Regions from separate parts of the Homo sapiens genome. Here all the other regions are linked to region 2. Evidence: promoter capture Hi-C in 16 types of primary human blood cells and fetal thymus (Javierre and others, 2016). All regions are on one chromosome and are shown on one strand. Each heading gives the region's core, a stretch centred on a gene start or on the middle of the fragment in contact. The rest is flanking DNA. Distances are from core to core; before and after follow the strand shown. Region 1 has its middle 25 kb from the start of SNORA88. Region 2 holds the start of IMMP1L (inner mitochondrial membrane peptidase subunit 1). Region 3 has its middle 14 kb from the start of RCN1.

Region 1 (4,436 bases), core at 1,311-3,810, 660 kb after region 2:
CAGGCTCCACTCAGAGTTTCTGGCGTTTCTGGTGCCATTAGCACGACCATGATACTGATTAAGACATCAACAACACTGCAGATATTCCTAAGAAACTACATTGAATTGTTTACCTCATGAATAATTTGCAGAAAATGTCTAATTTTGAAAAATATTTTCAAAATAAAAAGCTGGTATTGGTTTTCATTGAGCCCCCAAACAACGGAGCTTCCTCAGGGCTGCATTTTTCTCTCCAGAAAATTGTGGGAACAGCCATCCTGGCAAGCTGGAAATTTATTAAGGCCATGATAAGATCAGTAACTTTGAATCACTTCTCCCCTAAAGGATAATTCCTGTGTCATCTGTCCACTTGAGCTCCTTTGGGACTGTGGAGAAGCCAGCAAAAGGATTCAAATCTGACTCTTCCTTCAGGGACAAAATATAGGGAATTCCTTGATTTCACAGCTCCCAAGATTATGCAATGACCTAAGTCACTTGTCTACACCAAGCTTTAAGATGTAGATGGATTCAGATAAGCCAGAAAGTAAAGCTCCTGTTTGTGCTCAACTGCAATTCCATCCTCAACCAACAGTCTATTCCAAGTCAAAGAATCCTGAATTCAACTACCCATCATCCTTATTGTAGGTCTAGGCAAAGAAAATATGTTTACATACAAGGTCTCCTCAGTCTATCCCAATGAGGGAGTAAGGCAGTATTTTTTCAATAAGAATTGAACAGAGGGCCAAGCACAATAAAGACAATATGGCCATCAATGCAGCTAAGTAGATGTAGATGTATACATGTGTTTGCTCTCTGCCACACACTGTGCTAAGCACTTTATCTACTTCCTTTGATCCGAGTGCCTAGCATAGAGCCTGGCACATAGAAGGTGCTCAATAAATATTTGTTGAATGAATGAATGAATGAATGAAATAAAGCTCTGTGGGCATCATCATGATCATGTATAATGAGGCTGAGAAAGGGTAACAGAGGTCCCCTAGCTAGTAAGGAGTAAGGCCAGAATTCAAACCCAGGCATAGCTGTGCGTTTATATAAGTTTACCCATACAAGTTCATGTCCTTAACCATCTACTTGCCTTTTAAAAATATTACTTGAATGCCTGCTCTTTGTCAGACATTATGTCAGGGCCAAGAATAATGAACCCTCCCCTTCAGAAGTACACAATCTTGTATAGGAAACAGGGGCATTAACAAATGCATTAGCAAATAATAGATGCAATCATTACAGTAGACACATGGTATAGAAGACACCCCTCTGTCCGATGAGATGGGGTCAGGAGACACCCTAGAAGGGACTCATGGATTTGGGCCAGTGGAAGTCTGGGTATAGGGAAGTTCTGGAGGTCATTCAGCAAGGCAGGCTGAGCAAAGCCAGGCTGGAGGATGTCTTTCCTTACCATCTGATCACTTTTAGGTTCCACCACCAGTTTGGGGTGGTCCTGCCAGATATATCTCAGAAATATTTGATTGAAAAACAACCCTGATAGCATCAGAGCCTGATCTTTGGAGGCTGTGCATGCAGCAAGCATGCACTGAGGGCAGCTGGTCTCACTAAGCTCTGCTGCTGTGACCACCTTGGCTCAACCCAGCCTGGACTAGAAGTCCTCACCCAACCAAAGCCAGGTCGTACCGGGTAGATCAGACTTTGCTTAAGGACATTAACACAGAGTAACACGCACGGAGGCAAATCCAGACTGTGAGGCTCAGTGGTGTCTCATGCCTAAGATCTTTTCCCTATCTGCTTCCAGCCTGCCTCTGTAGCAGAAACCACATTCCCTATACCCACTCCAGAAGTGTCTTCAGCCATCTCTAGAACCCTCTTTGTCCAGATCCAAAGGGTTGAAGTCCAGGGACAGATGGGTGGGACTCCCCTCTCCAACCTACCAAGGCCTCCCTTCCAAGGCCCTCTTTCTTGTCTGAGGGCACCTATTTCCTGGACTTCAACTCTAGGAGTGTCACTCTGTACAGGGGAAACATTGTCTTTTATTCTCAAGGGTGTGGCCTTCCTTAGACTCACCACATCAGGATACAACATCTACAGAAAGGCCCCTCACACACAGCAGAGGCACAGGCTGTGGGTACTTGCTGACTGGTGCTCTCAACGGCAGCTGTCAGTCATGATTCATACACTCAAAAAACAACATGGAAAACTGTCTCTGGGCCATTAGCATGCAAAGCAAATAATATGTGATCTCAATTTTCTAGAGGAGCACTATCCAATAGAGCGTGAGTCATGTACGCAATGTTATATTTTCTACATTAGTAGCCACATTAATAAAAGTAAAAAAAATCAGGTGAAATTAATGTGAATAATATATTTTATTTAACCCAATATATCCACATATTTTCACTTCAATGTGTAAATGAAAATTTTACTCTTTTGTTTTGTACAAAGTCTTACATATCCCTGGTAGATTTTACACTTACAGCACATCACCACTGGTGGCTTCTGGCTACTGTATTGGACAGTACAGGTCTAGAGGCTTCCAGTTAGTGGAGCTCGAAGATGCTCCCATTATCTCTAATTACCTCTCCATGTAAAGTGATATTCAGACCCCTCCCTTACCCAGGGGATGATGGCCCAGGACTTTTCCAGGCAGATTTCCTTAGGCTACCCTTTAACACACACAGATAAACTGCTTTATGCCAAGCAATGGAACAGACTCAAGAGAGTGGAACATTCATGAGCTTTGCAAGGCATCGCCAGCATCTCAGACTACCCGACCCTGAACACATCCCCATCCTTGGATTCCTGCTATAGCTGCTTTGTTTTAAAGGGTAAAAAGGGTCTGTTGATGTTCCCACAGCTGAGCTACCCTACCCAAAGGCTTTCACAGTTGTTGTCTTTGGTTAAATTCTGTTCCATTACTGATGCCTGAGTGACTGATTTTAATGTATTAGACACTTTGATATTAGTAGTTATCAGTTAGGAACTCTTCAGTTGCAAGTGACAGAAAAACCAATTCAAATTCACTCAAACAATAGGCAGAGGGTGTGAGTGCTTTAGCAGTCCACATAACTAGAAGTCACCAACGATCTGATTTCATGCTCTTCCCACTCTGTGTTCCTCTGCATCAACACAATCTCTCAGCTTCACACAGTGCTCTCCTGCAGCTCCAGAAAATCACCTTGAGATCTCAGAGTGTCTTCAAACATGGCAGGTCTCACACCCAGCAGAGGAGAAAGTGCCCCTTCTGCTACCTCTCCACAAATCCTAGTATTCACTCTTTGCCATCGGCCAGAACTGAGTCACATGTCCACCTCCGAACCAATCAGTGCAAGTGGTTGCTGGCTTTCCTAACTGGTTAGACCAATTGAGGCCCACCCCAGGAGTTGAAGAGGGGTTAATCCCACCCAACTGTATGGCTGAAAATGGAGAGGGAAGAATTCCCAAAGAAAAAAACTCAAGGTCCCTTAGTGTGAGAAGCTAAGAGTAGATATTGAAGAAGCCCCAACAAATGTCCACCACAATCAACATAATATGTCCAAACTTGTTACTTTATCTTGCCTGATGTGTGGGTATTCAACGGGGGAATTGCTGAAATATCTAGTAACTTCAACTATGTCACATGGAATTAATTTCAATCCCTCCAGAGAACTGTCATAACTACTAGACTCCTTTGGCTAGAGAAAAATCTCCTTAGCACAACGCTTTTAAGAAAACAAACCTCCCAACTTGGGTGGGATATCCTCAGACTGCTCCATTGAAAGCCTGAATATAATCCAGGGATGTTAAGACACAGATACCTCTTAAGAGTTAAAAATTACAGAAAGATTTTTGGAACAAAGTACAAGTATTCTGTTAGTACCTTACAAAGCCATGTCAAATGTGAGGTTGGCAAATCTTCTAATAAGATCCAATAACATGATTTAAGGAAATTTGTGCTGTTAAATTTCTATGAAAGGGTTTTTAAATAAATTTTTTCTTAAGCTCTTTCTATGGACAAGACTGCACCATGTGTACCAGGGACTCCGAGGCTAAAAAAGCAAGGAATGCACTTTGAAAAAGAATCATTCTCAATACTACAGTATTCCCTGGTATCTTTCCGCTCCATAGGGCTTTAAAATACCACATTCATTTGAAAGATGGAATGTTCTTCCCAAGTTTATCATCTGTAGCAATTACTGTAATTAACAATCAGGACATCCATAAGGTCAGGGTCGGTTCTGCTCACCATTATGTACCCAAGTCCTAGAACACAGTAGGTGCTCTTTAAATATCTGATGCAATGAAAGGAAAATGAGATTGAATGCATTTTGTAGAAGCCTGCCTATTTCAACACAGCTCAGCCTGAAGACTCGTCCATGTGTTCCTCTATAAATCCCCTAGATGGTTGGGACTGAGGTGAGGGGTTGGTGGTGAGGGAGTGGTTGAGAATGAATGGGATGCTAAAAGATGGCCTAAAAGCAACAATGCCCAGTGCGGAGGATTCAGAG
Region 2 (3,916 bases), core at 1,051-3,550:
TACCAGATATATATCCTAATTTCATGAATACTCTGGTGTGTATATAGATCATCTTTCCAGAATTATAGTCCAAGTCAAAGTTGGAAAATAATTCTTCAGTTCTAGTAATGAGGCAAACAAAGCACCACTATCATCATCTTGGGAAATCTAAAGGGTTAAGTAAATACAGTAGGAAACAAGGGAATATGTAATACAGAAGCCTATAAAAACGAATTATACCATTATGTTAAGTGAAATAAGTCAGACACAGAAAGACAAATATCACATGATCTTACTCATAGGTGGAATCTAATAGTTCATCGCACAGAGAGTACAATGGTGTTTACCAGAGGCCAGGATGGTTGGCAGGGGGGATGGGGAGAATTTGGTCAAAGATACATAATATCAGTTAGATAGGAGGAATAAATTTCAAGAAATCTATTATATAACATGAATTTATAGCAAGCTGACTATAGTTAATAATCATATATTGTATTCTTTAAAAAAATGTAAACAGTGTAGATGTTATGTACTCTTACCACAAAAATGATAACTATGTGAGGTAATGCATTGCTAATTAGCTAGATTTAACGATTCCGGAATGTACATACACTTCATAGCATCATGAGGTACACAAAACAATGCCATCTGTCAAAAAATAATAATTATATGTAGCATTTCAAAAAGTTCACAGCATCAAAAATATTTGTAGGGGTGGGGGGACAGAGAGCATCAGGAAGAATAGCTAATGGATGCTGGGCTTAATACCGAGGTGGTGGGTTGATCTGTGCAGCAAACCACCACAGCACACGTTTACCTATGTAACAAACCTGCACATGAAGCCCAGAACCTAAAACAAAAGTTGAAGAAAAAAAAAATTCAAGACGTTTCTATCTGATATTGGACTGCTTTGTCACTTTTTCTTTTGGTCTTCCTAGTGCTTATTTACTACAGGATAAAATTAGCACATGCTATTTAATGTGTTCATTTTAAGTACTATGTTGTTTTCTATGTGTTAATTTTATCTCCTCCAGGTGAGACCATTTTTATTACCATAGGTCTAAAATGACAAGATTAAGTCCAAACAGACAGTAATCACTCAACAGCTATTTATTGAGTAACTTAAAGATTCAATATGAAAGCAACCTTGATCAAAGCTTTCCAGTTGATATATTGTGAAACAGGGTTTTTTCCTAAACATGATTCTAAAAAACAAGCAAACAAACAAAAATCCTCCCCAAATGAAAAACTCCAGTCACTATTTAGCAATACTAATTTCAATTTATCAAACAGAATCAGCCCAAAAATTTCAACAGGTCAGTGAGATTTAAAACAATTCGATGGCAAGAATTTCAATGAGGTTTGGCTCTAATTAAAAGGTATCACAGATCACTGTCAAAGTCAATAACTCAGTAGTGCGGTAATGATTTGGGAGTCCTTTTCAATTTAGACATTTGTCAATCATGATTGCCTTTAAACATCAGTTACCCACTGTCCCTGCTCAGTTTTGAAAAAAAAATTAAATACAAAAATACAACTCAAAATACATGTTTTTTCCACACATAAAATTGGTATTTTAGTAATAAACTCTCGATTCAGGGTTCATAAAATAAAGTAGGTATACTTCTAATTCTTCCTAGCAGTTTTTTGGGGGAAAGAAACCCTAAGTATTTTCTGTTATTTGCAGCTGCTTTAACAGCAAACGACAATTAAATGTGTGAACAAGGTTGTCAGAGTAACACTTGTCATTTACACCGCTTAGGAAAGACATCCAAGACTTCCAGAAACACTAATTAAAATTAACAAAAGCTTCTTATCGGAACTTGTCAGAGAGCTATAGTTTGTCAGACACAGGAAAACCAGATAGCCTCAAAGTTCAAGAGTTTTCGCTCTAAGGTTTAATTCCAAACCACCTACCACTAGGCACTAACGAACTAAGCCCAGACGCTCAGCAACCAACTCATTAAGGTAAGAGATCCCATCCTTTCCATATAACACAAAATTAAGAAAAAGACATCGTGGGGAAGGCGGAGTGAATTTTCTATCAGAAATCAGAAGATAAATGAGCAGGAAAAAAGTCTATCCTCACACACAGCGGAGAAAGGTGCTAGCAATTGCTTGATAAGCCCTAAGGGTTTATTGTTTCACCAACCTTTTCTTTAACTCAATGTGAATGAAGGCACTCAAAAGGAGAAGAACGTTACGTGATATTACCTACCTCGGGCCCCAAAGAACCCTGGAGACCCTCAACCAGGACACAGGTGGGCCTTTCTCACCTGGGCCCCGCCGAAGTCGACCGTCCTTTCGTAGGGCGCACTTTTCAGCAATACGCCTTCCGATTGGTTGGCTCGGGACTGACGTCTCAGTCCTATTGGTTACGAGAGCCGCGGTTGGGGCGAGGAGGCGGGAGTTTGGCACTGGTTCTGATAGGACGGGTGTTTGCGTTCCCAGAGTTCCTATTGGGTTAACACTGGAGGCTCTAAGATGGCGGCAGTGGCAACCTGCGGTAGTGTTGCCGCGAGTACTGGGTCTGCAGTGGCGACAGCCAGCAAGAGCAACGTCACCAGTTTCCAGAGGAGGGGTCCTAGAGCCAGCGTGACCAACGACAGCGGCCCTCGACTGGTGTCCATTGCGGGCACGCGACCGTCGGTGCGGAATGGACAGCTGCTGGTATCAACCGGGCTCCCAGCCCTAGACCAGCTCTTAGGTCGGTTCAGAGCGGAGATCTGGGCTCAGCCGAGGGGAAACTTAGGGAGGGGACCTGTCGGGGAAGCCACTTTGACCCCACATCTCTTTCTGACCCCTAAACCTTCGGAGGAGGAGAGAATAGCCTGGTCTGATTGAGATGGAGGGGAATACGGGTTGTGTGGAGACTTCTGAGCGCTGTTAACTAAACATGTTTTAGTGCCCTCGCTCTCTATTTCATTCCCTGCCCTCCAACCCCTTTTCATATTACGGAGGAATTCGTACATGCTTTTTACCCTGAAATGCTTTCTAGTCAAGGGAAGACATTAATTTATGGAGATGGTTTGGCTTTCATTCAGGATACCTCCCTTCTGCTTTCTCCAGGCAGCTCACGGTTTAGACCAGCCTGCAAAAGTTTTTATAATTGTGAGAGACAGACTTCATTAGAAGATGCTGGAAAAAAATGATTTCCCCTCTTTGACCGTCAGACTGCCTGTTCTCTGGTTCTAAATCTTAAAACATTTTGGCTTTAAGAGAGCGAATGTTAAAGGCTTATGTTGACACATAATCCTTATAAAGTATTTTGAGCCTGTCGTTGATATTTAGATAGTGTCTGCGTTAAATCTGTGTATATATTTTTTATTTTTTCTATATACATTTTGCTTCCCAGTATTGATTGCTGCTACATTCCATACGACATCTTTAAATTTAACTCACATTTTAACGAGAAAAGTCTAGTTCTTAGGCTTTCCTTTAAAATCTCTGGAATTTTTTATGAGAAGCCTGCTGAAGAATATGCTTGTTTCATAACTGTTATATTCAAAGGAATGACCAGATTAAGTTGGTAGGACAGATTTGCTGTGTTAATAAAGCTTCTAGATTAATTTCTGAATGCTGTTTCATTAAAACCCCGTCTGTGTTTACATAACTTTTTTCATAGTGTGTGATATGTGTCTGTTAAATCTTGTACACTTTCATAAAATATAACTCATTGCTTGTTCTTGTACTTCGTTTGACATTTCTTTCGGTTATTTTCCCCTCAAAGTAGGCTTTTCATAGGTTTAGTGCAGAGAAAGTAAGAAGACCAGCAACCTATGAGAAAGAGTATGGCTTCTTGATTCTCTCATTTCATTTTCCGGTTATTTCTAGATAAGTTTAAGTATTTTTCACTTAATTGTTTCAAATATATTTTCCTCCTGAGTTGCATGGTACTGTAAATAGAAGTGATTCAAAATATCTAGTTAGCAAATAT
Region 3 (3,967 bases), core at 78-2,577, 570 kb after region 2:
TTAATAATAATGATAATAATAATAATAATAATAATAATAATAATAATAATGTGTTTCAATATAGTTTTAAAAACTTATAAAAAATTTTAAACTTTTTCTTATAAATTATAAAAATTTTCAAATACATTCAAAAACAGAGAAACTAGTATAATGAACTCCTACTTACCCATCAGCAAGCCTCAACAATTGTCACCATTTTATCAATGTATATATTTTATTTATTTTATTTTATTCTGGAGACAGAGTTTTTGCTGTGTTGCACAGGCGGGAGTGCAGTGGCACAATCTTGGCTCACTGCAAACTCTGTCTCCCAGGCTCTAAGATTCTCCTGCCTCAGCCTCCCAAGAAGCTGGGATTACAGGCATGCACCACCATACCCAGCTAATTTTTGTATTTTTAGTAGAGATGGGATTTCCCACATTGGCCAGGCTGGTCTTGAACTCCTGACCTCAGGTGATGCACCTGCCTCCACCTCCCAAAGTGCTGGGATTACAGGCTTAAGCCACTGCACCTGGCCATATTTTAAAGAAAATTCCGTGTATTGGGCCATCACATTATGCGTCTCTAATTGATAAGGGCCAATTTTATAAAACATAACCTCCAGGCCGTTATCACAGCTAAATAACTGTGATTCCTTAATATCACCTAATTCTCAGTCCATATTTTATTTTCCCAATTGTCTCCAGGATGTCTTTTTATAGTTGGGTTGTTCAAATCAAGATCCAGACAAGGTTCTCATACTGTATCTCATTGTTTTGTCTCTTAAGTTGTTTTTGTCCTCTAATAGTCTCCCTGCCTTTATATTTTTTAAATGCCATTGATTTCTTGGGCCATTTGTTACATAGAGTGTCCCACACTCTTGACTTAGCTGATCACATTGTTAAAGTGCTGATAACTTGTGTCTCTATCTCCCATATTCCCCCATATTTGTCTTTTTTTTTTTTTTTAAATCAAGAGTACTTCATAGGCAGTACTTTTAAACATACTTACATGATGGAGACCACTTTCAGAAAATCTGTCCCTCATCCTCACATCCTCTTCCAGCTACCAACTTTCCTCCTCCCCATCCATAGCTGAAGGAGTCTCCAGAAAGCCACCACGTTTGCTTTCTTAATTTCTTCAGCTTTCACCCTCTCTTCAACCCAGTCAGATCTGGCTTCTGCTCCTGTCACACCCAGAAACAGTAATGACCTCCATTCTTTCAAATCAAACAGATATTTATTTGATCAATTCCCATCTTATTCCAGTTATAGAATTCAATAGCTTAAGGCGGGAATTTATCTGTATCTCTCATAGTTCCATGGATTGACTGGAATCAGCTGAGCAGTTCTCACTTGGGGCCTCTTAAGGAGCTGGCGTCATCTGAAGGCTTCACATCCTAGATGGCTTCTTTCTTCACATGGCTGCTATCCAGGTTGGATCTCAGGAACAACTGGGGACTGGGATCTCTCCCTCTCTCTCCTTCCCCTTCCATAGAGTACCTTCACGTGGTAGTTTGGGCTTCCTCACAGCATGGGGGTTTATGGGTAAAGAGACCTCTTACATGGGGGCTGGCGTCTCACTGAGAAAGTATTTCAAGAGACCAAGATGGATGTTGCAAGGATTTCTGTGACCTTGATAGTCGCGTAGCATCCCCTCTGCTTCAGTCTAGTGATTGAACGGGCCCCACCCCCATTCATTCAGTGTTGGGGGCACTACACGAAGATATGAATTTCAGGAAGCATACTTCCCTGGGGCCATCTTTGGAGACTATCACACTTCTCCTTTGACTCTTCAACAATTATCAGCACCTCAGTAAATTTTCTGATTTTTGAAATACTCTGACCGCTTGCTCCCATAACAAGCCACTTTTCTGTTCCCTTTCTACCTCTCTGACAAAAACCTCTCAGTGGTCTTTGCAGGCCCCATCTACCTCTGCCCAGTCCTCCAGGCCTGGTCCTAGGTTTCTTCTCTTCCAAGCCTCTTCTCTCCCAAGCCTCTTCTCTCCCAAAGCCCTTTCACATGGAGGTCCATGATTTCAATTAATTCCTAAAATGGGCATGACTAAAGTATTATTCACTCCAACCCAAATCTGTCCTCTGAGTATCATATCCCACCTTCTAGAAACTGAGTATCATATCCCACCTTCTAGAAACCTCTTCTTGAATATTACAAAGGTATATTAACATGTTCAACTAAACTCAGAATCAACCCCTGCCCCAAAATAAGCCCCTTCCACATTTCTTCATTTCACCTAATGGCACCTTCACTGCCTCCAGTTACACAGAAACTTGAGGGTCATCTCTCTCTCTCTCTCTCTCTCTGATTGAATCTATTCATTCTATCACCAAAATATTACTTCTAAAATGTTTCTGCCACTCTTCCCCACCTCCACTGCCATCACCCTCTATCCAGGCCACCCTCTGGGGCTATCCCTAGAAGAAAATGGGACCCATAGCAACTCAAGTCAGTGCAGAGTTTATCCAAAGTACTGACCCTTAAAAGGGAGCCACTCTGTACTGGCACTGGCATCTTTTATTGGCTCCAGAAGATACTGTTAAAAACTGACACTCAAAATTGAATTTTAATGATGGTTCATTAAAAAGATATTCATTTTGCAGCCTCTCACCTCAAGTGTGGGGCCCAAGGCAGATACTCCATATTCTCTTCCTGAAGGAAAGGTCTGCTAACAGGTCTCCCTTCATCCACTCTTGCCCCCTAGAACCTGCTCTCCACACAGCGGCATGAGTGCAAATGTGAATTATGTCCTCTGTTTAAAACTCTCTCATGACTTTTCATTGGTTTTGGGGTAAAAGCAAAACAACAACAACAACAACAACAACAACAAAAAAAAAAAAAAAAAAAAAACCCTTAGCATAGCTTACAATATACATAGGAAACTGTATTAGTCCGTTTTCATACTGCTGATAAAGACATACCCAAGACTGGGTAACTTATAAGGAAAAAGAGGTTTAATGGGCTTACAGTTCCACATGGCTGGGGAGGCCTCACAATCATGGTGGAAGGCGAAAGGCACATCTCACATGGCAGCAGGCAAGAGAGAGAATGAGAGCCAAGCAAAAGGGGTTTCCCCTTATAAAACTATCAGATCTCGTGAGACTCACTCACTACCACAAGAACAGTATGGGAGAAACGGTTCCCGTGATTCAATTATCTCCCACCCGGTCCCTCCCACAACATGTGGGAATTATGGGAGCTACAATTCAAGATGAGATTTGGGTGAGGACACAGCCAAACCATATCAGGAACACAGTCTATCCTCTTACAGCATTTTGACGCAAGTAACAGGAACTCAAACTCAATCTTGCTTGAACAATAAGGAATTCTAATATCTCATAGAACAGAAGTCCTGAGGTAGGGTGGCCTTTAGGGCAGATTGATTCAGCAACCCAACCTTTATCAGGGAGAAAGATTCTTTCCACATCGCTATTCTGCCATCCTCAGTGCTGGCTTCTTCCTGAGAGGGGAAGATAGCTGCAGCAGGCCCAGGCTTCACATCCAGATTTCACAACACTCAGGGGAACACATGGGGCCATCTTTTCTTGTGGCTTGTTCTTGAGAGTGAGGAAGCTGTTTTTGGAAGTCCCCTGTGAAACTTTCCTTAATTGCTCTTTTGCCAGAATTGGGGCCCACCCTTATAACTAAACCAATTACTGCGTGATATGGTTTGGCTGTGTCCCCACCCAAATCTTATCTTGAATTATAGCTCTCACAATTCCCACACGTCGTGGCAAGGACCTGGTGTGAGGTAATTGAATCATGAGGGTGGGTCTTTCCCATGCTGTTCTCATGATAGTGAATAAATCTCATGAGATCCGATGGTTTTATAAAAGTGAGTTCCCCTGCACAAGCTCTTCTCTTGCCTGCCACCATGTAAGATGTCCCTTCCTCTTCCACCATGATTGTGAGGCCTCCTCAGCCACGTGAAACTGTGAGTCCATTAAACCTCTTTTTCTTTATAAATTAC

What was found. The method cuts DNA at HindIII sites, captures the fragments that hold promoters and counts their contacts. A CHiCAGO score of 5 or more calls a contact.
Region 1: a fragment that was not itself captured here is called in contact with the fragment with the promoter of IMMP1L in region 2 in 2 of 17 cell types (fetal thymus and naive CD8 T cells); the score reaches 6.3 in fetal thymus.
Region 3: a fragment that was not itself captured here is called in contact with the fragment with the promoter of IMMP1L in region 2 in 1 of 17 cell types (megakaryocytes); the score reaches 5.1 in megakaryocytes.

What each region holds. Positions count from the first base shown.
Region 1 is chr11:32,167,093-32,171,528 of GRCh38, forward strand. It overlaps the pseudogene THEM7P. Among named protein-coding and RNA genes, the nearest start is that of SNORA88, 25 kb to the left of the region's middle. The HindIII fragment of the contact is 4,148 bases long and covers 487-4,436 here.
Region 2 is chr11:31,507,322-31,511,237 of GRCh38, forward strand. IMMP1L (inner mitochondrial membrane peptidase subunit 1) reads right to left here and starts at 2,301. Exons shown (of 6, transcript NM_001304274.2): 1 at 2,198-2,301. ELP4 (elongator acetyltransferase complex subunit 4) reads left to right here and starts at 2,446. Exons shown (of 10, transcript NM_019040.5): 1 at 2,446-2,686. The coding sequence starts at 2,464. RefSeq lists enhancers at 2,439-3,328, 2,461-2,750. The HindIII fragment of the contact is 1,748 bases long and covers 1,787-3,534 here.
Region 3 is chr11:32,075,406-32,079,372 of GRCh38, forward strand. No RefSeq gene overlaps it. Among named protein-coding and RNA genes, the nearest start is that of RCN1, 14 kb to the right of the region's middle. The HindIII fragment of the contact is 9,478 bases long and covers 1-3,967 here.